2 separate regions of the Homo sapiens genome follow, and region 1 is linked to region 2. Evidence: promoter capture Hi-C in 16 types of primary human blood cells and fetal thymus (Javierre and others, 2016). All regions are on one chromosome and are shown on one strand. Each heading gives the region's core, a stretch centred on a gene start or on the middle of the fragment in contact. The rest is flanking DNA. Distances are from core to core; before and after follow the strand shown. Region 1 overlaps CNTRL (centriolin). Region 2 holds the start of STOM (stomatin).

Region 1 (3,664 bases), core at 944-3,443, 260 kb before region 2:
TGTGGGTAATGTGCTGGACACCCTGCAGCAGTACATCGAAGGCAGCATGGAAGAATAGGCAGTATTGGATTTGAAATCAGGAGACTTGGAATTGAATTCTGCCTCTTCCACTACCAGCTGTGAAATTGGGCAAGTTATTTAACTTCTCTGTGCAGCTTTTATCATCTTATTGGGTGGTTGTGAAGATTTAGTGCAATAACATATGTAAAATGCTTAGCACAATGTCTGGCACACATTGAGTATTTGGCTCAATGTTACCCATTATCTAGGCTATTACTTCCATTTTGATGGATAATCAGGAGGTGACTGTGAGCTAAATCATGCACGACTTTGATTTCCTGGGCCTTGTAAAATGTTTGTGTTTGTTTATGTTTTATTCTCTTCAGCTTGCACTTTTATATTAATGAAATTTTTCTGCATGTTTTTTCTTTGATATCTACCATCAGATACTGGCCAAAAAAAGACAAAAATCACTTAGTGGATCTTTGAAATAAACTCAAAGTTTGGTTTAGTAGAAAGGAGCTAGTACTAGTAGTTAGTTAATAAAATATTTAGTTTCTGACACTGATCTAATATGTAACTTTAGACAAGTCAGTTCATCAATCTGAGACTTAATTTCTGTATTTATAAATTCAGAGAATTAGATTGGATCATTTGTCTTCTCCAAGCTCCAAAAATTTCTAAGAATAAAAAGTTATAGTAGAATTACTTTATTAAAATTGAATATTACATATTTGGATCTGGTTGAGCTTATTCACATCCCTTATTCTTTATTACAAAGAATAATATTCTGAACACTTAATACTACAGCAACAACAGTATGACAATTAAAACCAAGCTCTTCTTTTCATCCTTCTCATTCCTCTTTATTTCTCTGCAGTTAATGTCAGTTATCATTTTCCCTTGTAATTTGAAACTATTGTTAAAGTCGGAAAGTCAGTTTAAGAAATTAGTGCTAATTATTGGAAAATCAGGAAGCAGGTATTTATTAGGCCAGTTACACAAAAATAATTGATACAAAAATATTTTCATGTTTAACAAATTTAAGTGATTTTTAAAATCATTATTCATTATATCGTGAAGCAGCAGATAAACTTCAAAGGTCTTTTACATGATCTCTGATGAAATAATAATTTTGTATTTCATTTTTTATAATTTAGAAGTAAGATAAAATGTTCTGAGTGTTGTGCAGCTTACTGTGAAGTTTTTAAACATATATGATTATAACTTACGATGAGAACTTACCATATCATCACACCTTTATACTAACTTACTGATCCTGTATGTTGTCTCATATCAAATTGGGCCAATAGCTAAAACAGAAGACCATAGAATTAACACGAGCATGTCAGAAGCAATATGAGCTGGAACAGGAATTGGCCTTTTATAAAATTGATGCTAAATTTGAGCCACTAAATTATTATCCATCAGAGGTGAGTTATTTTAATTTTTTAGTAATCCAAAGTTAAAGCCCACATGGGATGGAATGGGGGAGGGCAGGTGGTGAGGACATGTAAGGGATTTGATCAGATATCACTCCACTTTCTTGTTATGAGAGGATTAAACTGTATTTTGGTTCAATCTATGACTTATTTGGCTCCGGGAGTTAGAACAGAATCCTAAAGAGGTAAAAAACTTCAAAAGAATCTTTGCCCATAGCCATATCCATTACCAAAAGCAGTCGTCTAACTCGCAGCTATCTTTCCCAGGTGTATGGGTTGATCAGCTCCTTTAAATCCAGACTTCTGGGAAAAGTGCTTCAGTACCATGGAATAGTCATCCCCTTACATGGTTTGTTCAGTAATTACTGGGTTCAGTATTAATCAATCATGACTGGTACAAATGCCATAAATGTCACTGCAAGTGAGGAAATGCCAAACTTCTAAGACCCAGTGATTCCAACCAATATCATATGATATTTCATTTTTAAAAATTCAATTATTAAAATATATTATACTGATGGCTACACACCATGTATCTGAAAAAAATATTAGACTGAGATTTTATTTATATGAGCCAAGAAACCAAAATAAAACACCCATATTTCTAATTTGAGAGATCAAGCAGTGCTAAAAATCACATAACTGTAGGCAGTTCTTTAATCAATCAGTCCAAACTTTCACTCTTCTGTGGTAAGAGGAAGAATTCTTTTGAGACCATTTTTAGTTCTAATTTCCTTTTTTGGTATATTAAGAAGAAGATAAAAGAATAATATATATCTTTCAGCTCCTAGGCATGTAGAATTTATATAAACTTGAGCAATTCTGTGATATGTTTGCCACTAATAAAATGAATAATGTCATTTGACTGCTTGGAGATCACTTATTAAACCATAAATCTATTATTTTGCTTTTAGTATGCTGAAATTGATAAAGCCCCAGATGAAAGCCCTTACATTGGCAAATCCAGATACAAGAGAAATATGTTTGCCACAGAGAGTTATATTATTGACAGTGCTCAGGCAGTACAGATCAAGAAGATGGAGCCAGATGAACAACTTAGAAATGATCACATGAACTTGAGAGGCCACACACCACTGGACACGCAACTGGAAGACAAAGAAAAAAAAATAAGTGCAGGTTAAAAAAAGTTATTTTAAATTCTTTAAAAAAAAATATGAAAACATTGAATATGTAGGCCAATTTTGTTTTATAAGTCTTTTAATTGAACATGTTGATGGTATTGTTTCCATGAAAAGTCTAAAACAAAAGTAGTGATTATCAAGCAGATTTATCGAGCATTTATTTTGTAATGATTCCTGTTATGGTTAAGAATGGAGTTTTTGGCAGTAATTTGATGGCAGCATGTCCAGGGGATTCAAGAATGAGTAAATCCCCTCCTTCAAATAAGCACTGGAACTATATATTCGAAGTCACAATTAGTAATAACTGAAGCAAGTAAAGAACCACTTGATTGATTACTATGCATGTAGCAAAAACCTAAAGCAATGCTTTGTATAAGCTGCAACAGAGCATTCTCCTCAGGCCTGGGCCGAAGGCTAGCCTCTGACTTTTCCTGACATGCCCCATGCCCCACAATCTAATTCAAGGGATCTTAATACCTTCTGGCAAGTCACATAAAGGAATAAGTCAAGGCAGGGGGACACTTTAGAGACCCTGCCAATGACAGACTTTGAATCTATTTACCCACTCAGCTGCATGGATATGGAAGAAAGAGAACTCTGACCAGGGTTTGTGCATCCCCCCAGCATTATGGCCCACTGTGGTGCTCTCAGTCAGACCAGCGGCTTATCTTTCCTTGACTGGTAGCTAAGTGGAAGGCATGGAAGGCAAATAGAGGTTGACTTGGTGAAGGAAGAAAAGAAACTGAGTTATTTATGTCTGCGTATACTATATGCAAGGCTCTGGGGGAAAGCAAAAATAAATCAGATTTTTATGCAGACTAGCTTTAAAGGGGCTGGCTCATAGTTTTATAGGACAGAGGGAGAGAGAAATCTTAAATTTGAGGTTGAAAATAATTGATTTGAGATCATCAACAGCTGGGAGAGAGAGCTCAGTAGTGAATTTCTTGATATTGAATTCCATCATAAAGCATTTGCCTCTAACACAAGGTTTTATGGGTTATTTTTAATATCCTGAACCTAATTATAACTTAGTAACATGTAAAGTGCATATTTCCCAATAAAAGTCTTATTCTCTCAAAA
Region 2 (4,045 bases), core at 299-2,798:
AGGCCGAGGCGTGTGGATCACTTGAGGTCAGGAGTTTGAGACCAGCCTGACCAACATGGTGAAACCCTGTATCTACAAAAAATACAAAATCAGCTGGGCATGGTGGTGCACGCCTGTAATCCCAGCTACTTGGGAGGATGAGGCAGGAGAATCACTTGAACTCGGGAGGCGGAGGTTGCAGTGAGCGGAGATCACACTCCAGCCTGGGCAAGAAAAGCGAAACTCCGTCTCAAAAAAAAAAAAAAAAGTGATACGGAGCCTGACCTATTTAGTTTCAATTTTTGTTGTTGTGGTTGCCATTATTCTCATCAACTCCTCCCTGTTACACTCTCCATTTGGGAAGATAACCTGCAACGTTATTAGTAGACAAAAAGTGAGGAATAAAGATTTCTGTAATTCCTTTGATGCTCCTGGGAAGGAACTGAACACAGGGATCCCTGGACAAGGGAAATGGAACTTATAGCTAAGATGCTGTGGATAAAGCTGGCTTTACAAATAATCAGAATAGATGACTCCAATGTCATGTTCTTTGAGGGGTCCTGGAAAGGACCACCCAGCCCTCTAAATTGCTTTCACTGCCATCCTGCCTGAAATTCCATCTTTAGAAACACTGTAATTCCTCTGGATCACTAAGAGCTCCTGAGTGGGTACCAGGACTCCTGAGAGGTCCACCATCTCTCTTTATTGGAACCCCCTCCCCAGAGTACCAGTTCCTCCACAGGGGAACGAGACTGAGCCACTTACAGCTCCTGCCTTGAAGACTGGGAAGGGAGGGTGGGGGTGAGGGTGGGAGAACTCAGGGTTCCTGGCGAGGAACAAAAGCCGGGAAGGAGAGTTCTCCAAAACGCAGAGGAAAGCGGAGGGGGAAAAATGGGGCAGAAAGTGGAGCTAGAAAGAGAGGTAAGAAGAAAGCCAGAGAGACTTCTTCCTTCTGCAAATCGGTCTAAGTTTCGGGAGGTGGGATTGGGGGAGGAGGGGGTTCACCCTGGGGCCAGGCCAGGGCTGGGTGGAGGAGGCGGCCTTCGAGAGAGTGAGTCGGGAAAGAAGGGGAGTGGGCAAAGGGTGAGATGTGGGGTCCCGGTCCCCGCCTCGCTGGCTGCCAGTTCCCTCTGCGTTTCCTAGTCCGCGTGCGTGACACGAGATAGTGCAGCCCTGGCATGGGGCTTGGCATCTGGCGGCCGCGAGATAACCAGGGCCCGTGCGATGGGAAACGTGCCGTTGGCAGCCCGCCACCCCTCCATCGTGACCTCAGTCTGCCAAACAGGGTTCGTGATGCTCAGTTTACTAGGGAGGAGCCGCGGCTTTGAGATCTCGCCCAGCCCGAAGCAGCGGAGACTGGCCAGGAGCCCGGCTGTCAGACCTCGGAGCGCACGCTGCGGGCGGGGGCTCGGTCCACGGGGGAGGGTCAGGGGACGCGGGACTCACCCTTGAAGGAGTCGGGGAGCCGCTGGGCTTCGGAGTCCCGTGTGTGCCGCTTCTCGGCCATGCTGCCCGAGACGCAGTCGCACTCCCCCGTCCTCGTTGCCAAACCCGGAGCCGCCGGGAATGCCCTGAGGAGCCAGAGGCACAAGACCCAGATTGCCGCCCCGCCCCCAATCGAGGTCCCGCCCTCGTGAGAGTTGGCCAATCAACGCCCAGGATCGAGGAGGACCCACCTCCCAATCCCCGCCCTCCTGTCCCTCCACGGCGCGACTGCTTCGCAGTCACTTCCCGCTAGTTCTGTGGGCTGAGGGGCGTGGCCTGAGGGGCGTGGCCTGAGGGGCGAGAGCCCCCAAGGCTGTGGGTATGAGGCCGGGGCCCTGCACCGGAAGGGAGGGCGGAAGCCACGGGACGTGGAGCAGATGGTGAGGATAGTGGGGAGGTAGCAGCAGAGGATGACCCGAGGCAAAAGTGCAAGTGAAGAAAAGTCGCCTTGCCGGGCAGAGGTACGGGACCAAGGCGCCTCCTCTGGGCTGAGGAGTTAGAGGGAAGAAAATGGCGCCCTGTCATGAGGGCGCGAGGTCCGAGTTGAGGGGAGAAGACTGAGGGACACAGAAGTGGCCGAAGTGAGGGCGCTGAGGTCAGCCTGAGCTGAGAGGGCCGGCAGATCACGCCGCAGCCGAAGTGAACGAACTCGAGTGAGGTGTGTTAAGAAAATCAAAATGTATAAATTTGGAAAAGGAGAGGAGGCCGGGCGCGGTGGCTCACGCCTGTAATCCCAGCACGTTGGAAGGCCGAGGCGGGTAGATCATCTGAGGTTAGAAGTTCGAGACCAGCTTGGCCAACATGGTGAAACCCCGTCTCTGCTAAAAATACAAAAATTAGCCGGGCGTGTGGCGCGCGCCTGTAATCCCAGCTACTTGGGAGGCTGAGGCAGGAGAATCGCTTGAACTTGGGAGGCAGAGGTTGCAGTGAGCCGAGATGGCCTGGGTGACAGAGCGAGACTCCGTCTCAAAAAAACAAAACAAAAAACAAAAAAACAGGAGAGGAGACTTTATTTCTTGTAAGGGGTTACAGCCTGCAAGGTGGCCATTCCGCAGGCTGGAGAATGGCCAGGACCAGAGACAGGCATTTCGTTGGAGGAGGGGTTGGAGTAGCGGCTTTATGCTGAACAGCTTGGGTAGACATGCATATTCAGCAGGTGACAGGAGGAGCTATGAATATTCATGAGGGTGGTCCTGACGCATGCCCATTGAGCAAACATGCATGTAACATACAACCCATGTTCATTTTGGAGTGAAGAGTTACCAATTAAATGTTAAATGCCTGGCCTGCATGGTGACGTCCCCATCTCTACAAAAAGTAAAAAAAAAATAGCCAGGTGGGGTGGTGTGTGCTTGCGGTCCCAACTAGTCAGGAGGCTGGGGCAGGAGGATCACTTGAGCCCAAGAGTTGGAGGCTGCAGTGATGTATGATCAGATCACTGCACTCCAGCCTGATGGACTCTAAAAAATAATAACAATACATGTATTACAGTTAGACCCCATGCGTCAAAAGGTCTTTTCAGGACAGGAAGGTGTGCAAGTATGCAGTCTGTGTAAACTAGCCAGAGCCAGTCCATGGTCGGTAGTTTTCCTATGAGGAGAAAGTTACTGAAATCAGCCTCTTGTCCAATTAAAGCTGTAATGATGGCTGGTGGAATAGGGGTTCCATTAGGCCACATCTGGTGGAGCTGCAAATTGTTTTAATATTGCTTATCTCGAGGCCAGTGCTTGTTAAGCTGCTAGAGAAAGAGAACAACCTTGTGGCAGTTAGAACACAGTTTATTCTCTAAGTGAAGGGATGTGTGCCTTAACCTTTGCCTGGCATGACCTTAGGTATAATTTGTTTATAATTTGGTATCTTATTGTCACAAACAGTCTGTTCTGTCAGTCTTATGATCTGTGTTTTAACGTTAATGCTGGTCAGCTGTTGTGTCTAAACTCCAATACGATGAAGTTATAATGAGGCGAGTCTGACCTTCTGTCCTGTCATTGGCTGGGAACTCAGTTTTAAAGTTTTCTGGAGTCCCCTTGGCCACAAGGGAGTCCATTCAGTCGGTGGGGTCATTTATTCAAACAAAATCTTCTTGGAGCATCTTCCATGTGGCAGGGAGTGTGCTAAGGGCCTCGTGGAGTTTACCTTATACTCTAGTTGGGAGATGGGCCACAAACAAGTAATTGAATCATTACACATGGTGAAGGAAGCTGTGAAAGGAGTGGAATATTCGGAGAACAGCAAAGGTTAGGACAGGGGAACACCTCTGTAAGGAAGGGGCTTTGAGATGTCGCCTGAGAAATGAGAAGGAGCCAGCCTGGGGAAGGGGAATAAGCGGTGCAGGAGGTGGGAAAGGGTATCCCAGGTAGAGGGAAAAGCATGTGCAAGGGCATTCCCAACCTCAGGCCTTCTCTTGGGGTGTGGCTGAAGACCTCATATTTGGAAAGTAGGCTGTGTTTGCATTAGACTTGTTCTATTGCACAATGTTCAAAGTATGTTAATGTACACAAGGTGCACTTATAAAAACATTCGATTTTGAAATAAGTACAGATTCACAGGAATTTGCAACAACAGTACAGAGAGGTCACAT

The links. Contacts are between HindIII fragments. The CHiCAGO score rates a contact against its expected background, and 5 or more counts as called.
Region 1: a fragment that was not itself captured here is called in contact with the fragment with the promoter of STOM in region 2 in 1 of 17 cell types (neutrophils); the score reaches 5.4 in neutrophils.

The regions. Positions count from the first base shown.
Region 1 is chr9:121,111,146-121,114,809 of GRCh38, forward strand. It overlaps CNTRL (centriolin), which reads left to right. Exons shown (of 44, transcript NM_007018.6): 9 at 1,314-1,433; 10 at 2,357-2,579. Among named protein-coding and RNA genes, the nearest start is that of CNTRL, 38 kb to the left of the region's middle. The HindIII fragment of the contact is 7,260 bases long and covers 1-3,664 here.
Region 2 is chr9:121,368,702-121,372,746 of GRCh38, forward strand. STOM (stomatin) reads right to left here and starts at 1,549. Exons shown (of 7, transcript NM_004099.6): 1 at 1,426-1,549. The coding sequence starts at 1,486. LOC102723324 (a long non-coding RNA gene) reads left to right here and starts at 1,192. Exons shown (of 7, transcript NR_187160.1): 1 at 1,192-1,265. RefSeq lists enhancers at 1,554-2,514, 1,974-2,063. The HindIII fragment of the contact is 8,041 bases long and covers 1-4,045 here.